Linked DNA regions of Homo sapiens: region 2 is linked to region 1. Evidence: promoter capture Hi-C in human tissues and cell types (Jung and others, 2019). All regions are on one chromosome and are shown on one strand. The core of a region is centred on a gene start or on the middle of the fragment in contact, and the rest is flanking DNA. Distances in the headings are between cores, read along the strand shown.

Evidence for each region. Contacts are between HindIII fragments. The study calls those that stand out against the background at their distance.
Region 2: a contact is called between a fragment that was not itself captured here and the fragment with the promoter of SLC24A2 in region 1, in 3 of the 25 tissues and cell types used here (H1 embryonic stem cells, heart right ventricle and spleen).

Annotation. Positions count from the first base shown.
Region 1 is chr9:19,786,385-19,792,647 of GRCh38, forward strand. It overlaps SLC24A2 (solute carrier family 24 member 2), which reads right to left and starts at 2,653. Exons shown (of 11, transcript NM_020344.4): 1 at 2,501-2,653; 2 at 1-635. The coding sequence starts at 482. It overlaps LOC124902128 (a long non-coding RNA gene), which reads left to right and starts at 2,775. Exons shown (of 2, transcript XR_007061432.1): 1 at 2,775-2,894; 2 at 4,541-4,676. RefSeq lists an enhancer at 1,569-2,216. The HindIII fragment of the contact is 14,556 bases long and covers 1-5,374 here.
Region 2 is chr9:19,874,744-19,881,006 of GRCh38, forward strand. It overlaps a transcript of SLC24A2 not described here. Among named protein-coding and RNA genes, the nearest start is that of SLC24A2, 89 kb to the left of the region's middle. The HindIII fragment of the contact is 5,741 bases long and covers 1-5,417 here.

The sequences.
Region 1 (6,263 bases), core at 1,403-3,902:
AAAGAAGGAACAAAGAACTCATCACAGACAATGGCTAAGGCTATGAACATGTAGATCATTCCAATGACATGCAGAATGATCGCACCTTTTCTTCTCTCCTCAAGGGAAAAGATGTCTTTCGGGTAGTCTCCTTGGGCGTGATCTGTACTATTCTCAGACTCGCCTTCCTTAGAAAGAGGTGGCTGTGGAGTATAATCCAGAATCTTGTCATTTAAATCTAAGAGAGTTCTCTGATGGTAACCCTGTGCTACCCTAGGGCCACTTACAACACTGGCCTCTCCTGTGCTCTGTGTATCTGTCTCAGAAAAGGCACTGATTGAAAATGAGACAGTGCTAATGGCTACCAGACCCATGAAAAGGCCTAAGACTCGAATTAACTTCAGTTTTTTCTTGACACTATAATGTCTTCTGCAGCCAGACAGTGACTCATCCAAACACCATTTCTCTAGGGAAGTGATGGTGGTGCTTTGTTGCAGATCCATCCTGGGTCTTCTGGTGGATATGGTGATCTTCCAACTTTAGACTCAACCAGATGGTTCTTTCATACTTTTCCTTACTTTATAGTTAACGATGCTTGTGGGGTACTTTCACAATCAGGGATTGTTATGCTTCACAGGAAACTTTCATCATTTATGCTTAAATAAAAATAAAAACGAGAATAAGTAAATCATAAAATCACGTCTTTTTAATAAAGATCTTTGCAGATATGATAAAGTCCTGTCCTGCAGCTGTGCGATCTTGGGTAAGTTACTTAACTTCTCTGTGCCTCAGTTTCCTCATTTAAAATGGGGACAATTACGGTACCTACCACCCAGGATTGTTTTCAAGATGAGTAAAAACATATGTAGCACTTAGTATGGGATGTGGCACTTATGAAGATGTATGTATAAACCCAAATAAATATTTTGGTAAATCCAATGTTAGGTGCAGAGAAGGCAGATGTAAGAATAAAAATTTTACAGGTGAAAATCTATCAGATTATCTCACCTTAAATCATGTAATAACCTTCCAGTGCTATAAAGGTACCTAGACTTCTTTCAGAACTGTCTAGGTACTTGGCAACTAACAATTATTCATTGTTTACTTTTGGTCCAATTACATAATTCTCAGTTGTAGGCAACTTTTTCTGATTTAACCTATCATTTGGAAAGTGAGTGATTCTTTAATTTAGTGATCTTTTTTCTGCACACATAATGATATCAGATCTTATTTTTCATAAAAAGTCTCTCCTTTATCAGATGCGGGAAAGTAGTCCTTTACAAATTTAAGTTTACAAAAAAAAATTCTGGTGACATGCACAAGCTGCCTTCCCTAAACATCTAGACATTGTTTTCAGCTAAATATTTTTTTTAAAAAAACAACCTTTAGTCATATTTAAAATAGGCAGCTTAGTAAGTCAAAGAACTCCCAATGCAGTGAAATAACAAGTAGGCTATTTCGAGAGACCACATGTGTATTTCATAAACAATACGCAAGTTGTAGCAATACCTCTGTCCACAAAATCTGCCCAAAATAGCCCCACCACTGACTTTAATAGGTTAGATATCCAAAGCAGAGTTTTCTTTCTCTATCCCACGGAGGAGATGGGTAAAATAGCCAGACTTGACAGCTGATATTCTGAAGAGTTCTCTTTTTAGTTTTTCTTTAAAAAGACTATTCTTTTCCATATCAACGATTTCATTTTGGAGGCAGTCGCTGAGATAATCTCAGGTGTAAAATAAGCTAATTAAACACACGCCACTTAAATACTGAGATTAGCTGGAGCTCAGGTTTTCAGAGCAAAGCAAGAGCACAAATCAACCCCGCTGAGTTGCTGCTACTCCTGAGATAACCCGACCCCATCACGGAGATTCCCAGGTGGCTGCGAACGTCAACGCTTAGCAGGAACGATTAAGCGATTCACAGCACTCAGGGGATTGTGTAAATGCCCGGCCCGGGCGACCAGCAGGGACAGATTCAACTCCCCGGGCGCAAAGTCATCTCCAGCCCGATCCTCGCTCCCCCTGAAAACCCACCGCTCGTCTCCCCGGGAGCTGCCTCCGTAGGAGAATGTTCGCCCCCAGCCGCGCCCCAACTTTGCCTTGCGTGGTCCCAAACTTTCCCTGGTGGATTAATAGGAAAATAAATCTAAAGGACAGACGCCCCACCTGTGAGCTTGGAGCTGGGTTGCATTTGGTGAGGCGCTTGGCCCGCATCCCCCTGAGTCGTTTGTAGGTGGCTGGGGAATGGAAGCGCCCCTCTGCGCGTCTCCCCCGACGGCAGGCCCTGCCCCACGCCCCCCATCCCAAGCCAAAAGCAAGGGTAGGAGAGGCGGGGGCTCCAAATCCACGCCCCGGAGCACAGAGAGTTGGCTAACTCCTAGCGGGGCCTGGGGCGCCCACATCCACGGCAGAGCCACCTGTGAGCCTGCAGAGCAGCAACGGGATGCGCGCAACCGGGATGCGGGGACGACCGCCACAGCGGCTACAGCGGCAGGCGGGGCGCAGCCGCCCGCACTTACCAGGATAAGATGGGAGGACGCGCACACGGCGGGGCCCCCGAGCGCGGCCCGCCGCTCCAGTCCGCCGGCCCTCCGCCTACCCGCTCTGAGGCCCGGGCTCTGGCTCGCACTGGCTGCCGCTCTCGCCAGCCGGGCTGGGTTCGGGAGGAGACTGAGCCGCTGTGAGCCCGGCGCTCCGAGTCTGGCGCTGCCCGGCCCCCGCCGGCCCCTCCCTCTGGGCTGTGCGCTGTGCGCTGGGAGCGGGGCCGCAGCGCGCTCAGCTCCCGAGTCCTTTGCTCCACGCCTCCTGGGCGCAGAGGCGACGCTGGCAGCCGTCTCTTAGGAGATTTCTCCGCAGTGTGGACGGGGGTCAGGATTTGCAGGCGAGCAAGGGCAGAGAGGAGAAATCGTACAGGTCGGTGACGCGCCTAATTCACAAAGCCTGAAAGTGCTGTCAACTTTGGGGTCATCTTATGCTGGGCACCGCCTCTCCAATTATCTGCAAAAAGTGATAGCAGTCGCGCTTTTCTTTAGGAGGCGATGTGATGTGTAATGGTGGAAAAGACGTTCAATGAAAAGGCACGGAGGCCTGCAGGACAGGCTGTTGGGGTCCAGGGTTTCTTGAGTGTTGGATTTGGATGCTTGGGACACTGCAGGGGCTTCAGTCTTGCAGGGTGACCTTTCATTTCATGGGTGATGAAAGTGAGACCCAAAACCCCGTGTCATTTTGAATCACTGACAGGCTTCGGCTTTTGGCCTCGGGATGTCCAGCCCAGTGCTCCTTCCTGTCCTATCTGGAAAGCAAGATCCCCTTGACCACAAGAAATAGAATCAGGCTTGTTGGGGATGAGAGACTAGAATCTGGGCCAAAGAATGGAAGACGGTGGTAAGACAAATTGGTAGTGAGGGAACCCCTTTTACCCAACCCTGTGACCACCAGCAAAGCTGCCAAGAGGTACCCAACTCGTGAAGCTCTGAAAGCTTTTCGCACATTTTCCCCTCTCCTTACCCTCCATCCTTCTGTTCTCTCCCCCATCCAAGAGGGTTTCTTCATGCCCTCCTTACAATGGGGGTAATGGGTATATCCTGAGAGCTCATGACCTCTGACTTAGAGTACAGCTCTGTAGTCAGACCTCTGGGCCTACTCATCAATAAGTAAAGGGAAGCCTAGGGAACTTAGAAATATTTTTCTTCCCCCCACCCCCCAATCAAAGCCAGGCATTCAAGACTCAACTTTTCTTTTTCTTTCTCCTTTCGAGACTGAATCTTGCTATGTTGCCCAAGCTTGTCTTGAATTCCTGGGCTCTAGCCATCCTCCAGCCTCAGACTCCCAAGTGCTTGCAGACTATAGGTGCCTGACTGAATTTTTTTATCTTTAACTTTTAATTTAGAAAATTTCAAACATATACAAATGTAAGAAAGTAGTATAATGAATCTCCATGGGGCCATAACCAGCTTGAACAATTATGAACTCATGGACAGTCATATTTCATCTATACCCCTTTTTCCTATGTCATCATTTTGAAGCAAATCCCAGAGCATCATATCATTTTATCTGTAAATATTTTCAGAAAGCAAGAAAACTATCAACTACCACTAGGGTTGTGTCAAGAAGGGGACAATTCAAATAGGCTGTCACTGACCAAAGACGGGCTAATTTGAGCATCAAAAAAAAAAAAAAAAAAGATAATCGCAATTGTTTAAAACACATCAAACATGATTATATCTATTAATTGATAATATTTTAAAAACAACTGAACAGATTGATTGCTTGATGGTTCAGAGGGAACCAGCTCATAATTTTCAAAACTGTTTTAGGAAAAGGAAAACAATTGTGCATTTATTTTGCCTTTTCTATACAAATTGGACCTCTGGGTAACCAATTAGGCTTTATTTTTACCCTGCCTTTGTCTACTTTCCTAGTTTAACAATCCTATTCTTCCCTGAGGCAATAGGTGCCTCTGGCTACATGGGGTGCGGAGGGGAATATCACAATGTCTAGAAGAGTTTTTCTTATGTTATCTTCTAGAATTTTTATGGTTTCAGGTTTTTCCCCTACAGCTCAGAGATGACCCTGAGTCTTGATTCGGTGAGAAGAGGAATGAGATCCAGATGAAGACCTCATGAGTCCATAGATTGTATTGGCTGGGATTTGCACTTGGTTGCACATAATAAAAATTCATTCTTGGTGATTAAACCAAACAAGAATTTATTTTTCTCATGGTAAAAAGAAGTCTGAAAGCAGACTGCCCAGGGTTTATAAAATAGCTTCAAGATGCTATCTGGGAACCCAGATCTTTTGATCTGTCTTTCTTAATGTATGGCTTTATCCTCATGGCTACAAAATGGTTTATTCTTTTGCATTACATCTGTGTTCCAGGCAGGAAGAAGGGAAAGAGTGAAGGGTGAAAGGCAGAAGGCCTCCTTGCTAGGCTTTGTCTTTTTATTTAGGAAGGGATTCTGTCAATGCTTCACTTACATTTCACTGATCACGACTTGGTCACAAGACATAGCTGCAAGGGAGTGTAAACAGTATTTCAACTGAGCACATAGTCATCTTTTAGAAAATCAGGGCTCTCTTAGTAAGGGAGAAGGGGGAGATAAATGTTGTGGGAGTGACTACTCCTACACAGTTCCAAAGCATCTCAATGAGATCCATATTCGACTCAAGATTTGACAGTTGACCAAGAACTTGGCAATTAATTGCCACAACAGTTGAGAAGGCTACAACTTCCATCCTGGTAGTAATGGAGAAAAGCAGGGCCTGTCATTTGTCCAAATCACACTACGTGGAAGCAGAGGAATTGAATAACAACTGTAGGTCTCCCAGATCCACAGACCTTATTGCCTAGTCATAAAGAAAGGGTAGCTTCAGGAGAAAATTTACTACCATCAAATGAGTTATTAAACAGTAGCATTTGCTAAGAGACTCAAGTAGATTAATCAATGGGTCTCTTTTTAGAAATTATTAAGGAGCTACTTCTTTATATTTGTAGATACTTGTGTAAGTATAAACATTAGTTGGCCTCATATTTACCCTTCTATTAGCTGTAAGATTGGTTTTAACATATAGTTTATAGGAGTAATTGGTATTACCAGTTAAGAACAATGGGCTCTTTTTGTTTTGAAGAGGAGGCTTTCAAAAATCAGTAATGAATTTTAAAAATCACTAGGTCATACCTAAGCTAATAAAGGATTTTTAATGTAAAACTGCCAAAGGGGTGCTAGTTAATAGTTTTGCTAAGCACCCATATAATTTTCACATAGTTATCTAGGCTGGCATGATTTAAAATAGGTTAGGAATATCCCCTTGCCCCATCTGAAATAACATCCCCAGGGGGCCACAGTGTCTACAATTCCACCATTAGAAATTCATTGCTTTGGCTTTATATTTTATAATTTCAGGAATTTTTAAAGAAGCAAGTAGCTCTGGAGTCATAGTAATGATTAGCAATTTTTTATTGTTTTTGACTTGACATTCAGTCTCAAGGGAAAAAAATTCTAGTAAACTGTCATGAGCAGAAGGTGAAAGAGATGGTTGAGGGCCAGGTGTGGGTGTGGTGGCTCACGCCTTTAATCCCAGCACTTTAGGAGGCTGAGGTGGATCACCTGAGGTCAGGAGTTTGAGACCAACCTGGCCAACATGGTGAAACCCTGTCTCTACTAAAAATACAAAAAAAAAAAAAAAAAAAAAAAATGCTGGGTGTGGTGGCAGGTGCCTGTAATCCCAGCTACTTGGGAGGTTGAGGTAGGAGAATCACTTGAACCTGGGATGCGGAGGGTG
Region 2 (6,263 bases), core at 1,297-3,796, 88 kb after region 1:
CAGCTTTGTCTGCGTCTGAGTTATTGATGATATCTTAGCAATGGAATGAAGTCTTCTTTATCTGCATTTCCAAATTGTAAGCAAATAATTTGAGCAGAGGTATTGTTCTTCAATTTTTGTCTTTAAATTTCTGCCTACAATGAAACCTCTAAGGCTTTATTTATTCTCCTCAATTTACAGAAGCACTTCTAGCTTCAGAGAGTTAGCTTAGTTAATTTTGTTTTCTATGTCTAACTTTATCTTCCAGAATTACAAAAAAAAAAAAAAAAAAAAAGCTCAGCCAAAAGTTTTTGCCTTATGTATTTGTTTTTAACTAGCATTCATATGGTGACTTGATGCCTTCAATGGAAAGTTTACTCTTGCCTATGGGCAAAAGTATTACTGAGAAAACCAAATCATAAATGGATACCTTTGTGTCAGATTATACTGAACAAGCTTTCCTTTTCTCTCTCAAAGAACTGAAATTTCCTCCTGATGCTTCAATCAACTCTTTCAAGACTTGTGTTAAAAAATACCAGTGTACTTCTGCTTAGTAGATAACATTTTAATTTTGCTCTCATTTCTTCATAAAGTCATTTGAAAATGAGGTGGATGAAGCCCTGACTCTGACGAAATTGAGGACTTACTTTTAAGTAGATAATGACAAAACTTAGTTCAAGATGGTTGGCAGAGTCTCTAACTGAAAAGCATACCGATGAGGACAGCAATGAGTCATTATGACATACGGAGCCTCTTTGTTCATCAAAGCATCAACCCAGATGTGTTACCAAGTCCTGCAAGGGCTCCATCTGTGAGCGGAATATCAAGATTATCCTTATGGGGAGGTTTTCTTGGCAAAGAAACTTGTCACCATTTTGAAGACAGTGAGGGCCTTTGAGATTTCAAAATAGGGCTCAAGAAAGAGGAATTCTTTTATGAAGTACAGGCCTGCACCCAGCAGCTGAAAATCAGTTGTGAACTACAGTGAGAAATATAGTGGTTGCATCCAGTTGCATATTGAAAGGAATGATGAACAGCTGCCAATTCTTCTACGAATGTGCTTAAAATATGAGAAGAATCTGGGGCTAGATCATGTCACTTGAATGACACACTGCTTCAGATTCCTTTCTCTGTTTCAAGTCATACATTCACTCAATCATTTCCAAGGCACATGGATTAACCAAGGCTTCTCCAGTTGTGCATGGTAATGTGATAAGCAACCTTATCCAATACTTCAAAACAAAGTTTAATGTTTGGGAAAAATGCAAGAGTTAGTAGAATACCAACACTTTCTCCAAAAATATCCTCTATCTAATATACTTGCAGCATGTCAAGTCTTCCTTTAGTATTGTTAGGGCCAACAGATTTGATTATTAAAGCCAAATCAAAGAGCATATTAATATTATGCTTCTTGAATATTTTTCAATTTAAACCAGACAACACCTAAACATAGAAAGATTTCTGTAATTGTGAATGTGGTTCAGTGGCCACAAGGGCATGTTCAATAGGTAATAATAAGACATCATTACATGAATTAAAATCCTGAGGATATACAACAGTATCCCATGCCATCTCACATTTACTTAGAATGAGATAATATCTCAACATATGGATTGACATTAAAATGTATGTTTATTGAAGGCGTGTGTGTGTGTGTGTGTGTGTGTGTGTGTGTGTGTGTACATGTGTGCCAATTGTGGTAATTCATAGAATTCTTGGAAACCATATATAAGGGGCTATGTGAAGACCCTCTGGCTGAATTCTTTACAGCCTTCTTCTGGTTAAGTCAGATCAGCAGCAAATTGTGTAGTTAACCCATTTTAAATTGGCTTTCCATAGAACTGCTTTTACTGAATGATGATGTCTCCAATTTATAGTGAGGATCATTGTAAGAAATAGTTTTATAAAGCTTGTTGCTATGTTAACTAATAGATATTATGAAAGATGTTTTTATTACATTACACAGCTTTCTCTGTCTCGCTCTCTGTCTCTCTCATAGCCATGGGAAAAGTTAATTTTTGTCTTATGGGACACCTTGAAACACAAAGTGAGTCATGTTTCCTTCCACAAGGGTTGCTAGAAGATTTAGAACCATATTTGTGGTTCACCAAAAATATTGAGTCAATATTTTTGAAATCTTGATCTAAGTAAGTTCAAGCTGCTATTTTAAAGCTGCCAGCTGTTTTCTGCTTCATTTTTGAGAAGGACTATTTTCTTCATTAGGAGAAATATTTTCATTTGTCTTTTGCAAAGGTAAAGTCAAAAATTTTATTTCAGAATGGAAAACTTTGGACAATATGGGAGCTAAATTTCTCTCTATATTAATATGAACCTTTGCCTTTCTTTAGGGGACTCATGTCTGTGCAGATTATTACGCCATTGTCTGAAAGAAGGGCCTGAGACTGAGGGTGAGGGAAAAGTGATGTTCCTCCCTTTTTATTGGGCCCCAGTGAGGGCTGGGTTTCTTGACTTCCAAAAGGGAGGGAAATCAGAGGAAGAACAATTCTTCGGTGGGAAGCAAGCTGGAGACTGCCATTAGACTGAGTTTGAGGAAAAGGAGAGACAGGCTGGGAAGAGAGAGACTATGGAGGTCCATAGTTTGTATATGAAAATGGTCAGTGCCTCTAGAATCTGTAGGCTAAACTATGGAGTTTGGCTCCATAGTTTAGCCTACAGATTCTAGAGGCACTGACCATTTTCATAACCAATTTAAAATTTTCCTTTTCTTTGTGGCAACTTCTTTGTGATAGTTCCCTTACTTTTAGTAAAGTCATATACATTCCAGAAACCGACCTCAAGTGTGGAATTCCCTAATGTTTGGAGTGAAGGAGTATGGGAATGTAGTGGCAGTCAGGACAAAGCTGGATCTGAGATGGCCAGAAGTGACTTGCCCAAAGTAAGACAGCAAGCTGAGGAGGGAAGTAGCCCCCAAGATAGAACTGTGGCAGATGGAAGCTTTCTGCAGAGCTCCAGAAACACTCAGAGACAGGAACCTGGAGGAAGACTGGATTGCCTGTGGTCACCTGGAATGGATATTTGGATTCTTGCTTTGGATATTAAAGGGAACAGTGAAACACAAGGGCTGAAGTAACTGGGACTTCTAGGTTACAAGAGTGTACAACTTTGTGGCGTACACTTAATTTACACCTTCAACCCTGGTTCCATCTTATTTTCTCATCCTTATTTTCTTATTACTTATTCTTATAAATTTATGTATGTGCTTATTTAATTTTTTAAAGATGTGAATCTATGAGGCTTGGGGGTAACACCAGAAAGGGAAGATATTTTTGGCCAGAACTCATGGCCACAAAGGCAGCAGACCTGTTACCACCCTGTGCAGAGGCATTTTGGGCTCGATAGATCCAGAGTGCTCCAGTCAAGGGACAACAACACCTACTGCTCTTACTTTTTTTTTGGAATGAGCACAAAAATGCCCTTATCAGCAAGAAGACTTCTTATTGCCAAGCTGCCAGAATTTAGGCGGCTGCAGTTTGCAGCAATCCTGGGAAAACAGCTCCATAACACCTGGAGACTTTGAGGCCAATAGGAAATTGAAGCCCTTGCTGCTAGGGGAAGGATTGGATGCAGGTTTCCTAGTAGGAGTAGGAGTGGGGCCAGTTCCATTGGATAATCCAGGATGAGCACTTGGATTTTTAAAAAATTAATCCTGCTTATTACTCCATAACATCTTTAGAAATTATCTTAAGAAAGCAGAATAGAAATAATTAAAAACAAAATAAGAAATAGCATAATGATCATGACAATCTTTTATATGGTTTAGATTCGTGTCCCCACCCAAATTTCATGTAGAATTGTAATTCCCACTGTTGGAGGTGGGGCCTGGTGGGAGGTGATTGGATCATGGGGGTGGATTTCCCCCTTTGGTGCTGATAGAGTTCTTACCAGATCTGGTTGTTAAAAGTGTGTGGCACCTCCTCCTATCTCTCTCTTTCTCTTGCCCTGGCCATGTAAGACCTGCTTGTTTCCCCTTTGCCTTCTGCCATGATTGTAAGTTTCCTGAGGCCTCCCCAGCCATGCTTCCTATACAGCCTGTGGAACTGGAAGTCAATTACATCTCTTTTGTTTATAAATTACCCAGTTTCAGGTATTTCTCTATAGCAGTGCAAGAAGAAACTAATATAATCTCCTTCCCCTTCTCCCCCAGAAAACCCCCAATTATGCCACACATAGAATATTGTCTTCAAAATAATTCTCTCTAGAGCATGAAGACAACACTCCATAATTCAAAACATGTTGGACTTCTCTTTGGAGACCACCTTCAAAACCATGTACCACCACAGGAAAAAACTCCATCATTACCTTATTGCAATTAGACATTCTGTCTCAGTCTGCTAATCTTTATTCCTCCTTGTCTTTTTTTCTGTTGAATGCATCCCCTCCCACCTCTGTCCCTTCCTCATCTTTTACACAAGCAGTAGTAATATCCCCAGAGAGGTCATGCTGAGGCTGCTACTTGCAAAGAGCTAGAGATGCTGAAACACAGGGCTGTGAGGCCAGACAGGCTGGGAGTCAAGGAAGCAATTTGCAGCAACCCCGAGAGGAGACTGATGGTGGTAAGTTAATTTGTATGCAGTCTGCAAAGAGCTATTTTATAGCTGAGTGCTGTACGGGTGAATCATGGTAGGTTGGGATTGCTGTGGCCAGTCAAATTGCTTTGAATTTAGGAAAACCTATATAGAGCATCATATAAATACCTGGTGTAGTCATTATTACCTATTTAGTTTAAAGGAAATAGCAAGTTATTTTGGGTTACAATGGAACCTTGTTATAAAGACTTGAATGTTAAAATGTTGTTGGTTTTACATATCTGAATAGTAATTTTTTCATTTGCCTCATAGTAGTAATAGTAGTATCAGAAAATATTCTCCCCAAGCCAAAAATGCAACAACTGAAAAACATGGAAGAAAAAAGCCAGTAGGGGGCACGCTGATTAGAACTAAATGCTCTTGAGTCAACTCTATCACTGTTCCCTCCTCCCCCTAAGAAGTAAGAGTTATTTCAAATATGAATTCAAAAGTCAGCATATGGAATTTTTATTTTCTTGTTTGCTTAGAGGATATAAGTATTTGCAAAGTAGAATGAGTGAATTTTATAATAAAATTAGCAAGTAAATAATAATGTCTTTTATAATTACCTTGATCCCCTCATTTTTAAATATAAAAATGCCCTTTCTACAGTCCCTCTTAAACCTGGTTCTTAACATTTTCCTTGACTATCAAAATAAGATATTCTGAAAGGTAGACTAAAACATGAAGAAGTAAAAAAATAACAAAATAAAATGACCTATAAGAGGAGTTCCTAGAGTCAAAATCTACTTATGTTTTGATTTATTTTTTCCACTGTTTTCCTGTGTATTTCCCTATGACTATTTAAAAGTGTAAGGCAGTATTATAATGCAATTACTTTTTTAAAAGAGAATTTATGGCAATGTTGTGATGGCATGAGAGGTAGCATGATATGTGTTCTTCTTAGCCTGGACACAGCATTCCAATCCTTCCAAGAGTAAACTTACATTAACACATGGAGAACCAGGGAAGTAACTCGGGACTGGTTGGCATGCAACTTTTCATCATATAACTTTCAAAGTTATCATCTGATTGGGCTGGTGTACATCACCACACATGGAGCATCCTTAGTGGATGAAGGGATTTAACCTTTCTTATGTCCACTTTTACATAATTACCATTGGCTTGGACTCTGACCCTTGGGCCAATATGTCATGGCCACGGAAGTGGGGCTGCTTTTTCTTAGCACATAGTACAGTCTCAGCATATGTGGAATTTAGTTTATAAAGTCAATGTGAAAATCTAGGTGAGAGAAGTTGATGTGACTTAGGATAGTAGCTACAGAAAAGGTGAAAAAAGCAGTTGGATTCTTGGTATACTTAGAAGCCAAGCTAACATTATTTGCTAATGGGATGAGTGTGGGAAATGAAAGAAAGAGAGAAGTCAGGGATGGCTTGAGCAACTGGCATAGACAGGGGCCATTTACTGAAGGAGGCTATAGGAGGAAGAGATTGGGGGGATTGGATATGTTAAGTTTGAAATTCATCTTAACGATCAAACCAAAGATTTTCAATGTACAAATCTTGACTTCAAAGGAGTCGCAGGATGTAGAGGTATAATTTGGGGGTCATCAAGGAGGTGTGTTGTGTAGTGCTTAAAAGCAGCTACTCTGGAGCCAGATTGCTTAGGTTCCAGTCTTGGCTCTTTTCTCTACTAGCTGTGGCCCTGGGCAAATAATTTAACTTCTCTATGCCTCCC